Regions from separate parts of the Homo sapiens genome. Here region 2 is linked to region 1. The links are contacts of gene promoters, found by promoter capture Hi-C in human tissues and cell types (Jung and others, 2019). All regions are on one chromosome and are shown on one strand. The core of a region is centred on a gene start or on the middle of the fragment in contact, and the rest is flanking DNA. Distances in the headings are between cores, read along the strand shown.

Region 1 (6,362 bases), core at 1,224-3,723:
TCCAGGTAGCACTGATAGCTATCTCTAGTTCTGTTGATGTTTTTTGTTCTTATAGAAAAACAGCAAGAAGACACCATTTCTCCCCTGCTGTCATGCTTTACTGCATCTCAGAATGACAGTCAGTGCTTCCCAAGGTCTCACACAGAAGACGCAAGCAGCCTGCACACATAATTTGGTTAAACTGCACGCACATTAAAAAAAATGTTTTGAATCAGTTGCTATCTTTAAAAATATATGAAGCTTGTTTTCCGTAAAAATTTACAGTTTCCCCCAAAACTAAGATCAGGCAACCATGTGCTGGAGCCCCACCGCACCTGCAGCTGCCCCCTTACTGGAGACAGGCTTAGCAGCACACAGCTCCCACCCAGCCCTCCTGTCCACCCGCCTCCTGCACTCAGGCTTCCTGACTGGTCCCTGCTGGCAGTGGAGTTTACACCACAGAACTGTACCTCCTCTTGCTGACATTTAGGTCAGTTCCAGTTCAGCCCATTCTGTCTTCCTCGGAACCCAAACAGAGAGCTCGCAGCCCTCTGACCACACAGTGCTCCTTCACCTCTCAGAGGACGCACAGTGCACCAGGCTGCAACACAAAGAGAACGGTTCGGATATCGTTGCGGCCTTGGATTAGTTCCAAAATGTCAAGCGGGCCTCTTAATGAGGGGTCTCTATTCTTGATGTTATGGCAGTGGAGCTACAGGGCAGGGAGAAGCCCTGAGTTAAAGAACTCACCTGTGTGCCATCAGGAAACCACGTGAAAAGCACTACCAAGGCAAAAGATCTGAGTTCAATCTGGGCTGCTTACCTAGCTGGGCAAGAATGCTTCATCTCTCCTGAGCCTCAGTTTCCTCACCTATCAAATGGGCTAGTAGAGCTTCACAAGGTTGTTGTGTGAATGAAAAAGTGTACATGAAAGTGCTTGTAAGCACCTGACAAGTATAAAATAAGACGGGTGTGGAGGAGGACCGGAAGAGAGGTGCTCTGAAAGAAGTAACAGAAATGGGTGCCATGCATTCCAGTTACAGTTGAAGAGCCTCTGTCTCTATGACCTGAGGTCCCTCCCACCTCCTCTTTCTGCCCTGAGGGCCTGAAAAATGCCTCTCTTCACTTGCTCCCAGTGGCTGCAGTAAAATAGATTATAAGGGAAAACCGCCTATTCCCCGAAGCAGTAGCTCTCCAGAACTCATCTGGAGGTCCAGGTCACTAGGGGAGAAGAAGCCAGGCTGAATCCACGCCTGGCTCCACGGAGGAGCCACAAGGATGGCCATCCTCCCCCAGCCCCTAGGACGCTGAGACAGGCTCACCGGAGGTTATCGGTGTCTCCATTGGACAATCAAGGAACTGAGGTTCTTTCCCTCCAAAACCACACACCTCCTCACGGCTTCACCGGGAGGTGGATCAAATGACCTGCTCTATGAAAGCACTTTGCAAAAGGGATGAAAGTACAATAACAAGCAAAAATAGCCTCCAAGATGTGATATAAAGCGATGCCAATGCGCAGCTATGTGGTTACTGGTGAGCAGACCTCCGGGAAGCACAGGACACACCCCACTTACCCAACAGACGTTCTCATCCCATATGCCTTTGTCCAAAGGTTGCACGGGGGTTAAGCTTGGCCCAGAAGGCGCCGAGGGCTGGTCGAGTTCTCCCCTTTCCAAGAACCAGCCGAATCTCCCTCCCGCAGATCTGAGGGGCAGAGCCGCCCATCCGGCGGCGCCGGGCCACTTCTGGGCGCGCCACCCGCCGCCCGCCCAGGCTCGGGGAGACAGCGCCCTGAGTCCCGGCTGGGAGAAGGCTGCTCACCTGGTCCTCACGGATTCCAGCCGAGGGGCGTGACCGCTTCTCCCCACACCCTTTGCCCTGAGCGGGACGTGGAGTCTCTTGGCCCCAGGGGGCGCGGCCCGCATCGGCAGAGTCCCGGGCACGCACCTACGCCCTCCCATCCAGCGGACTGTTTAGGGGCTTCGGGCGGCGCCGGAGAAACGGGGCGGGCTGCACCCAGCAGAATGGGGTGGGCCTCTCAGAAGCCCCAGGCCGCAGGGGAGGGGCGCGCCCCCAACATCTTCCCACAAAGAGCTCCAGCTCTCCAAAGCAAGGCGCAGTGCGGGCGGAGGACAGCCCTGACCTCCGAGAGGGGCGCGGGGAGAAAGGGAGCGCCGTGGGGGCGGGGACCCTTCCCGGCCCGCGCCCTGAGCCCTCAGCCTCGCACAATGAGTTTAGCCTGGCTCCATCCGGACCGCCCTCTCCGCCCGGGCCCGCGCCCGCGCCCCACGCCGGGTGCTCACCGAGGAGCGGCCGCCGCGGCAGCTCAGGCCCCGGCCCAGCCGCCTCCCCGCCTCGGCCACCGCCGCCGCCGCTTCCTTCCTCCCCGCCGCGCTCCGGGACTGGAGGTTTCGGGTTTCAGCCCACCGAGCCCCGCTTCGCTCCTCCCGCGGGCCAGCCACCAGCACGCGGACCCGGGCGGGCGCAGGCCAAGTAACTTTGCGGCGCCCGCGCCCCGCCCCGCCCCCCCCACGCCCGGCCGGGCCCCTCCGGCCCCCGGAGCCCCGAGCCGCCTCCCCGCGCCCCGCACTGCCCCGCCCCGCCCAGCTCCCGGCGCCCCTCCCCACCCGCGCCCCTTCCTTCGCGTCCGTCCGCCCGCCCTCCCGGCTGCTTCTTTCCCATTTCTTCCCACGAACAGCCTCGGCTGCTGCTCTTTGTCTCGCCCTTACCCTCTCGGCTCGCCCCACTTTTCTCCTGAAAACCTTTGTGGTGCCTAACTCAGGCCTTCCCTGTTCCCGTTCCTCCGCCCCAGTTCCAGCCGCTGGGACGTCGCCTTTTCCATGTCTCTCTCCATCACACAGACACTTTCAGATTCTTCCCGCAGGCTCCGCACAGTCCCATTCTCCTCCTCCAGTCCCGCCGTGGACGATCCTGGTATCGCCTTTGCTGCTCACCTTTCATTCATCCAGCCGACGGGCACGAGCATCCATCTGCCTTCTGCCAGGCTCTGTCCCGGGCTCTGTTAATACCACAGTGAATTCGTCCCGAAGCCAGCCCCGGGGAGTGGGGAGTGGACGTAAACAGGTCTTCACACTGCTGCCCTGCACTCCCTCGGAACCAAAAGGCCAGGGAGCAGTCATCACAAAACAAAGAGCGGGCGCTGTCAGCTCGGGGGACGGAACAGTTCCTTCTCAGAATGTTTGTTTTCCCTTCCTCACTCCCCACTTTGCCTGCCTGTCTCCAGACTCCTACGTTTTCTATGCAGCAGTCTTAATAAGGGGATGAAAAGTTGAAGCACAGAGTAGAACTGCTAAAAAGGGAAAGAAGGAAGGACAAACAGGGCAGCAAAATAATCAGGTAAGAAGTTACAAAGCCCAGTTCACTAAACTCCAGAAAAAAAAAAACAAACCCTGATGCTGTGCTTAGAGCAGGATTCACATTCCTCTGAAATCCATCTGCTTTGATAAATACATTAATTATTCCCTTGTCTACAGATTGACACTGTGGGAGATGCTTCCTTAATATTATTGGGCCACTGAGGCACAATTTAGAACAGTAATTTACTGTCTGGCACCTGCCAAACACCCACATTGCTCTGGGGACAAATGGGATAATGGGGAGAAAAAAGTAAATGGGTGCCTTAATATTCCTATGGGATAAATGCTTTATTTGGTCAAAAACTGGAAGCTGACGCTCCACTTAAGAGTCTAGGTCACGCGGCAAGCCAGACACTTGAAGGAGCTTAAAGCTTTCTGTTCTTAATAGTATTTTAGACACTTATTTTGAAATCCCTGATATTTATTTAATTTACACTGACTCAGATGTCGGCTAAGCTCTATGAGCCTGAGGGAGTGAGTTAACCTTCCTCTCAGCTTATTCATATATAAAATGGGGATACTCATACTTTCCTATCTGTAGAGTTGAAAAGGTTAAATGAGGTCATGTAAGTAAATCATCCAGTGACATAGAATCTGAGAACTAAACCCTTTTGAAAATTGGTATTCACGAAAGGTCTGAAAATATATGCCACAGACTGGCATGGTGAGAATGAGAATAAAAAATAAACAGTTACGGCTGTTGTGGCTCCATACCCATCCATGATGCGAAAGATGTCCTTCATACTGAGCAACCTTTTCCCATACTTACTCTATTTCATTTTGAACTCTTCAACAGAAAACACTTTTTTTCTCCTGCTGCTCATTATCAAATGCATTATTTATCACAAAGATTTTTCTTTTTTCTGAGCTCATAAGCTCAGAACTTACTGTGCATTCAGGGATGGAAATTGCTGCCAACAAATGCATTTTCAATTGCTCTCTTAAGATTTTTTTCCCTTCTGGAGCTAATATTGAGCTATGAGCAGAATTCAATCAGATGCAGAGAAAACAGACAAATTATTATTAAAGTAATTATTTCACCGTATATCATTGTATAGGTGACAATTGTGAAAAACGTGACTGATTTTGTGCAAGAATGTATTTATATTTTTTTAGAAAAAGAGAAAGATACACACTAATTCTCCTTTCCCAAATTAGTTTAATAAACCATTCTGTTTTAGAGACATCCACAAAGACTTATAAAGTAAGATAATGAGAGGCCTTGTCCAACTGAACCTCACATGTGTGTTGAATAATTTATATATAAAACATATTTTATGTAAAATATCATTTCAGTCTAGCAGTCCACATAAAACTGGTGAAAGCAAAACTGTGAAATATGCTATTTGTTCCACATGGAATGTTATTTCCTCCACTCTTTACAGGCCAAGCCCTTCCTGCCCTTCACATCTCACCTTAAATGTCACTTCCTTAGAGAAGTCTTCCCTGATGGGATCTTGCTATGTTGCCCAGGCTTGTCTTTAACTCCTGGGCTCAAGCTATCCTCTCACCTTGGCCTCCCAAAGTGCTGGAATTACAGATGTGAGCCACTGCACTCAGCCCCTGACCAATCTAAAAGAAATTCTCTAATCTATGTACTCTTTCACAGCTCTGTTGTTTTTCTACATAAAATGTGTCCAAATTTATAAAATATGCATCAATTTTTCTATTTATTTGTTTACAGTATGCCTCCACTGATAGAATGGTAAAACCATTTGACCTCAGATGGAAACTTCCCTGAAACTGATGTGCCTCTGGACTGATCAGAAACAAGAGCCAATCAATATACATATATTTTTATTGAATCAGTATGGGTTTATTTCTGTTACTTGGAACAGAAAGCATCTCACTCAGTGATTCTTAATACGACATTTTGAAAGGCATTTTGGGTTTGTCACAATGATTAGAGGACACCCCAGGCATTTATTGGGTGCGGCCCAGGATACCAGACATCTTGCAGTACATGAAATAGTCCTACACAAAAAGAACAGTTCCTTTCACACATGACAGTAAAAACTGTCTATACTTTTCTAAGTCTGAAACCAAACTATTTTACATATATCCATGAGGGGTTTTTTTGCATGGTTTTGTTGTACAGCAATTTGTCTAGGAATGCAAGTACTATGTGAATTGAAGGAAGATTGCACCTTGATTTACTCAAACCTCACCAAGAGTTGTTCAGTATTTTGGAAATCACCTCACTATTAACAATGCCACTCATGGTATCAGATTTACTAGTACAAGTTAGGTGACTTGGTCTACATTTATATATCTGTGTCATACTTGCAGTGATCCTGTCTATAACTTCAAGTGTCTGACCACTTCATGATGTCATCCACTAGGGCTGATATATTGAAATGAGCATTATTGGGCTGGATGCGGTGGCTCACTCCTGTAACCCAAGCACTTTGGGAGGCCAAGGCGGGTGGATCACTTGAGGTCAGGAGTTCAAGACCAGCCTGGCCAACATGGCAAAACCGTGTCTCTACTAAAAATACAAATATTAGCCGAGCATGGTGGCACATACTTGTAGTCCTAGCTACATGGGAGGCTGAGGCACAAGAATTGCTTGAACCGGGGAGGTGGAGGTTGCAGTGAGCTGAGATCGTACCACTGCCTTGTCCTACACATCTCTTCCATCTGGCTTCTCTTGAATTGCATCCTTTGTCATAAACCAGTAATCAAAGTAAGTAAAGTGCTTTCTTGAGCTCTGTGAGCTGTTATAGGAAATTATTAGCCATGGGAACTCCTGATCTGAAGCCAAGTCGGTCAGAAGTACTGGAGGCCCTGGACATTCATGTGGTGCCTGAAGTGGGGACAGTGTATGGGACTGAGCCCTTAATCTGTGGAGTCTGAACTATCTCAGGCAGTTAGTGTCGGAATTGAATTGAATTGTTGGATACCCAATTGGTGTCAGAGAATTGATTGATGTTGGAAAAAATTCCACATATTTTGTATCGGGGGAAAAAAGTATCCTCAAGTACATTTATCTTTTGATCTATTAAA
Region 2 (6,362 bases), core at 2,135-4,634, 33 kb before region 1:
ACACATTAACTTCCATGGAACAGTCTCCTAAAAGCACTAGTCATCTTTGCTAGCCCTATCCATCCCATTGTTCTAGCTACTTTCATGTACTGAAATTCTATTTTTAGACCTGGAGTTTCACCTTCTGTGATGTGGAATGAAAATATGAGAACTATTTCCACAGACCTGGAACTCCAGCAGCTTGGCAGCGATGATAGAGGTGACCACCATTACAGACTTCTAAGTAATGGACGTTCACAGTGGAACCGCTGGCAGGTCAAATGGTGTCCCCAGCACGCCCTACTTTCACTTGGCTGGTTTAGGACATTGACAAACTGTGAATTTCGCTCCAGGCAGCCATTCTTTTTATATCTGTCTTTGCTCTCTTTTCATGGGGCTACAAGATGGACTCTTTGGGTTCATCTGTCCAGCCAGTTTCTTTTTTTTTTTTTCTTTTTTAAATTTTATTTTTATTATACTTTAAGTTTTAGGGTACATGTGGACAATGTGCAGGTTTGTTACATATGTATACAGGTGCCATGTTGGTGTACTGCACCCATTAACTCGTCATTTAGCATTAGGTATATCTCCTAATGCAGCCAGTTTCTTTAGCTAAGGTTCTCAGCTGGGAACCCCTGGGTATACGTGGCAACGTCTATAGACATTTTGGGCTGTCACGACTGGGGAGGTGTTCCAGCATCTGGTGGGTAGAGGCCAGGATGCTGTTGTATATCCTACAAGGCATAGGACAGCTCCTCACCACAGAGAATTATCTGGCTCGAAATGTCAACAGTGCTAAGGTGGAGAAACCCTGAGCTACGCTAGCTGGCTGCTGGAATGACTGGCAGCACTGAGTTGATGGTGTACAATGACAAAGCGTCCAGGCTCGGGCATCTCAGAACTGGGAGAGTTACTTCCCAGCCACGTGACCTTGGGCAAGTTACTTAAGGCCTCAAAAACCTCACTTTGCTCATCTGCAAAATCGGGGCTAACAAGGTTACCATGAGGGTTAGCTGAGCTAACTGTTGATAAACGGCATACATAGTGCAGTGCCTGGAATATGACAAGCGTGTAACATTTTATAGTTAAAATCACGCCCACTGCCCTTGCTATTCTCCACTTCTACTTTCTTTTTCTTTTCTTTTCTTTTTTTTCAGATGGAGTTTTGCTCTTGTCACCCAGGCTGGAGTGCAATGGCATGATCTCGGCTCACTGCAACCCCTGCCTACCGGGTTCAAGTGATTCTGCCTCAGCCTCCCAAGTAGCTGGGATTACAGGTACCTGCCACCATGCCCAGCTAATTTTTGTATTTTAGTAGAGATGGGGTTTCACCATGTTGGCCAGGCTGGTCTTGAGCTCCTGACTTTGGGTGATCCACCCACCTCGGCCTCCCAAAGTGCTGGGATTACAGGCGTGAGCCACCACGCTCGGCCTCAGCATGTTTATTCATCTTATTCAGCTATGTATTCCCAGCACCAACCACTGTGCTGGGCATATAATAGGTGCTCAATAATTGCTTACCAAGTGAATACACAGAAGCTGCTCCTTCAGTCAGAAGGGGCCTCTCCACCTGTTACGTACCTGCTATCCTACTTGCTGTTTAGGAACCTAGCTCAAATGCCACCTTCTCCCTGAAGCACTCACTGCCAGCCCATCAGCAGCAGTGGCTGGTGGAGTTGTCGATGGTGGTTATTTCTACTTTTGTGTTAAATCGGCGCCCACAAGTCAGCCTCTGCCACTCAACTGTAAACCCCTGGTGGGCAGGGTCTGTGTCCTGCTCATGCTTGTAGCCCACCACTCCAAGGATTGGGCACAGGCCTTTCCTGGAGTAGACATCCAACCAATATTTCCAGTGTGAAATAAGGCCCTGAAAGAGGTAAACCCTCTCTCAGATGAAGTACTTTGCTGGCATGATTTGAGGATTTGTCATGCTTGCTGGTAGAAAATCTCATTCTCACTCATCTAGACCCCAGATTTAAGCAAGCAGCTTACAGTCTCCTGGAGCTATCCCTGCAGATGACTGGCATGTTTACTGAGCATTCATATAGAGACAGCTCTGAGAGGAGCACTTAGAGACCAGCTCTCCATCTCTGCAACTAAGCTGTTTAGCCTCACTCCATGTTCCACGGGACCCAGGGCCCAGAAAGGGATGTTCAAAACTTAATAATTCAAAAAAAAAAAAAAAGTTAAAACAACAAGATCCCATTCCTCCCCACTGCCAACAAACTTCCAAACTTTTTTTTAAAAAAAAATTATATAATCAGTCCTGATAGGCTATTGACAAACAGCTGCTGAAATACAAATTTGTACAACTTTCTGAAAGGTCATTTGCCTTTTATATATCAAGAATCTTGAAAGCATGTTTACTGTTACTGAGAATATAGCAATTACACAAACACACATGCTCCTCAGAATGCTATAGTGAATAGCAAGCTATGTGAAGTCATCTAATCCAGTAACAGGGGACTGTGAAAATAATTTATATACCTCCACAGGATGGAATACCTCGTAACCATGAAAAATCACCTTCTTCAAGGATATTTGAAAATAAGAGAAAATGCTCACCATCACCTAAATGAAAAAAGGAGGACAGAAAACCATAGGAGCCAGAAGCCTATTTCAAAAATTTGCTGTATACAACCAAAAATTACTGGAAGCAAATATACTAAAAACATCAACAGTGATTGTTTCTGATGGTTAGATCATGTGTTTCTAATTTCATTCATTATATTTTCTGGATTACCTCTACTACTCAGGGAAAAAAAAAAAAAAAGAGAAGCTAATTGATTTGTTTTGAGCAATGGCTTCATTGGTTCTGCCTCCCCAGTGCAGCCACAAAGAGCTGCCAGATTCCAGCCTCAGGTCTAGGTGCAGTCTGTGCTCCCAGTGGACAGTTCCACTACCACTCATCGACTGAAAAACTGACAGTCTCAAAAAAGCCCGGGGACTTGTGTCACCCAGTGACAATATCCCTGGCTAGCCCCACTCTGTGTTTTCCCTAACCCCACTACTTACTCTCCTCCCCAATTCCTGGTAAATGACACAGACCTTGAATCTATCCTCCCTGTCCTCATGAAGCCCAACCTGTGCCTGTGATGAACGCAGTGGCCATTAGCAAAATTCTAATAAATGCACTCATTTGTGGGAAACTCGCTGCCAAAGCCCACAAGACTTGTACAACTAAATCTGACAGCATAATGCGGGACCCTGAAGAACCCGCGAGATGCTGCTTAGGAACATCAGCTGCGCCTGACCTCCCCGTGCATCAGCTACGTTGAGGGCGGGAGCAGCCGAGTTTCCAAATGCACACGGCCTCTCCCCGGTGTCACTGCCTGTATTCTCTGGCTGTCTTCCTTCCCCCTGCTCTCCTTTCAGTCCTGGACTGTGGGCAGTGAGGGTGTTCCCTGTTCGGGCTGCACTAGTCAACACCAAAGCAAGACAGAGCAGGGGTCACACTGGGAGAAAGAGAAGCAGAGTCAGAGGCCCTGGACCCAGTGCTGCCCGGAACTGAAACCTGCCTTGGCTTCGGCTTCTTCATCTACAAACCAAGAATCAGAGGTTTCTACAATGTTTTATTTTAGGCGATGGAAGCTCTTTTTAAAATATAATATTGTATGTAACATCCACAGACAAAACGAGATGTGCTTTGGTTGAAGAGATGGCTCCAGAGGCAGAACTCCACCTGGTCATCCTCCCCCAGCAAGGGCCCCTGACACTCTCCAGGGAACTAAGGCAGTCAGAGGGACACTGCACCAGATGAGCGCCCGTCAGTAATCCCTCAATTCTCTAAGTCTGAGGCATGCTTACCGGTCGATGGCAATGACCCCGAGGGTTAGCATGCTGGCAGAGCTGATCAGCAGGTAGAGGAGGGCAGAGAAGTTGCACCACACTACACCAAAGATCCATTCCCTGCGGATGGAGCTCGTCACCACAAAAGGCAGCACCAACACGGACAGCAGGAAGTTGGACAGAGTCAGGCTGAAGACGAACTTGTTGCTGAGGGTGAGGAGGTAGGACTTCTTGTACAAGGTGACCACGATGACCAGGTTTCCCAGGCAGACAAAAATGGTGATGACAATGATGGCGATGAACTGGGTGATGATGACGCCCCCTTCGCCACCCTCCTCCTCAGTGAGATTACTCAGCTCCTTCCTGCAGCTGAGGGAGGAGTTGAGGCTCATGGTCAGTGCACCTCGGCGTGGGGTGGGCAGAGCATGCTGGACGACTGGAAAGATAAGGCAGGACCAGGGGACAGGAAAAGATTCATCAAATCACATCGTCTCCACCTTAGGGAAGAAAGGCTTAAAGGGGTTAAGTGCTACGCCTCAGATCACCCAGCTAGTACAGACTCTCAGCGGGTCTTCCCCACGTAAGCGCTACATAAGTGGGCCATTTTCTACAACCATGTGTGAAATTCATTACATCCCCCTGACCAATTTCTTCCTCTGGTCTAACCCATCCTATCCATTTTCCCAAGACCAGTGGTTCAAAACCTTTAATGTGCTGAAGAATCGTCTGAAGTGCCAGTTTAGAAAGCTGATCCTTGAGCTCCACCACTAGAGGTTCTGGGCGCAGAGATCACAGGCACAACCTAGGAATCTGCATTTTAAACAAGCAGGCTGGGGCAGGGGGCAGGGGGCTGTTACAAGTGGTCTATGGGAGACACTCTGCAGACTGCTGTGTTTAGACCCTGGCTACTCAGGGTGGGCCCTGAACCAGCAGGATCACCATCACCTGAGAGCTCACTAGAGAGGCAGAACCTCAGGCTCCGCATCTCCATCTCACGGAATCAAATCTGCATTTTAGCCCACCGCCAGTCAGTTTTGGTGCACATTACAATTTGACTGTAAGATTCTCATGGGAATTGTTCTGAGCTCCCTAAGCAGGGATTAATCAGGTACAGTTTATATGGGGACGTCATTACTGTTCTCATCAGACACGGCGAGGGAGGGCAAGCACTAACTGTAAATGGGGAAGTAGAGGCACCATTTGAGGTCTTGGCCCACAGACATCACTGTCTATAAGGTGCAGTCCCTGCCCTCAGGAAACTGGCTTGGGATCTTGGCTAAAGCCGCAGGTTGACACATGTTAATGTTAAATCCTACAGACTAATGTTTCTCCAAAACTCTTCATATACTTCAGTTAGCCAAAAAACCCCACAGATCACTTTCCCCACCTGCTCTCATTCTCTGCACACAGAAGACACCAAAAAGAAAGGAAAGATCGCTTTCCACGATCAAGACAAAAACTCTGCTGCCTAAACTGCCTACACACAGCAGCGGGGCCATCCTCACAACCCTCGTGGTGGATCCGCTGCCTCTACTCAAACACTCTTTGGCCAGAGGGAGTGCATGGGTTAATAGGGCAGCCCTTCCCCTCACCAGCAGTCCTAAGTGCCAGAGAGAAAGCTTCCCTCATAGTGAGCTGTATAGTGGTTTCCAGACCTTTCACTAACTCAGCTTCCCTGCTTTGTATTTGCTCTCAGATGTCTATGACTCTCTTGATTTGCGGTCCCCAAAATTGAACACACCATTCTGGATGTATTTTGATAAGTGTCAGGTCCAAAGGGGCAATTATCTCCATGATCAGAATAATCCCCTTCTACTATTCACTCTAAGAATACATTTTCTGGAGGCAGGGCGCAGAGTGGCTCACACCGGTAATCCCAGCACTTTGGGAGGCCCATGTGGGCAGACTGCTTGAGCTCAGGAGTTTGAGAGCAAGCCCGGGCAACGTGGCGAAACTGTCTCTACAGAAAAATACACAGAAAATTATCCGGGAATGGTCGTACATTCCTGTACTCCCAGCTACTTAGCGGGCTGAGGTGGGAGGACCCCTTGAGCCCAGAGGTCAAGGCTGCAGTGAGCTGTTTGTGTCACTGAGCTCCAGCCTGGGTGACAAAGCAAGACCCTGTCTCAAAACATTTTCTTGTAGCAACTAATTCTGTTGGGCTTATATAAGTGTGTGATTGACTAAACCCCAAAGTTTATACATACATGAATTTCTGTGAAGACAGATGTCCCTAATCTTGAACATGTGGAATTAATGTTTTTAAGCCTATGTACAAAACATTATTTCTACTAAATTTCCCTTTATGCATTTTGGCCCATATTTCCAGGCTGCTAAAGTATTCTGAATTTTGATTCAGTTATGTAACATATTAGTTACTCCAGCTTTGTGCTATGGAGATACTTTCTAGGTGTGCCTTCTATGTCTGTGTCTTTGTAAGGTTGTTTTTGGTTTTTGCCTTTAGTTGGCGAGTTCTGGGTTTGTTGACTCTAATAAGTAAATTATTAATTAACGTCTCAAAGTTTCTAAATAAGCATATTACTGCACAAGGGACAACATGGTGATTAAGAAAATAGACTTTGCATGTAACAAGC

Evidence for each region. The method cuts DNA at HindIII sites, captures the fragments that hold promoters and counts their contacts. A contact is called where the count stands out against the background at its distance.
Region 2: a contact is called between a fragment that was not itself captured here and the fragment with the promoter of GPR161 in region 1, in 1 of the 25 tissues and cell types used here (adrenal gland).

The regions. Positions count from the first base shown.
Region 1 is chr1:168,134,457-168,140,818 of GRCh38, forward strand. It overlaps GPR161 (G protein-coupled receptor 161), which reads right to left and starts at 2,474. Exons shown (of 6, transcript NM_001375883.1): 1 at 2,283-2,474. RefSeq lists silencers at 2,117-2,346, 2,875-3,169. The HindIII fragment of the contact is 4,691 bases long and covers 925-5,615 here.
Region 2 is chr1:168,100,691-168,107,052 of GRCh38, forward strand. GPR161 (G protein-coupled receptor 161) reads right to left here. Exons shown (of 6, transcript NM_001375883.1): 2 at 3,787-4,204. The coding sequence starts at 4,160. Among named protein-coding and RNA genes, the nearest start is that of GPR161, 33 kb to the right of the region's middle. The HindIII fragment of the contact is 8,551 bases long and covers 1-6,362 here.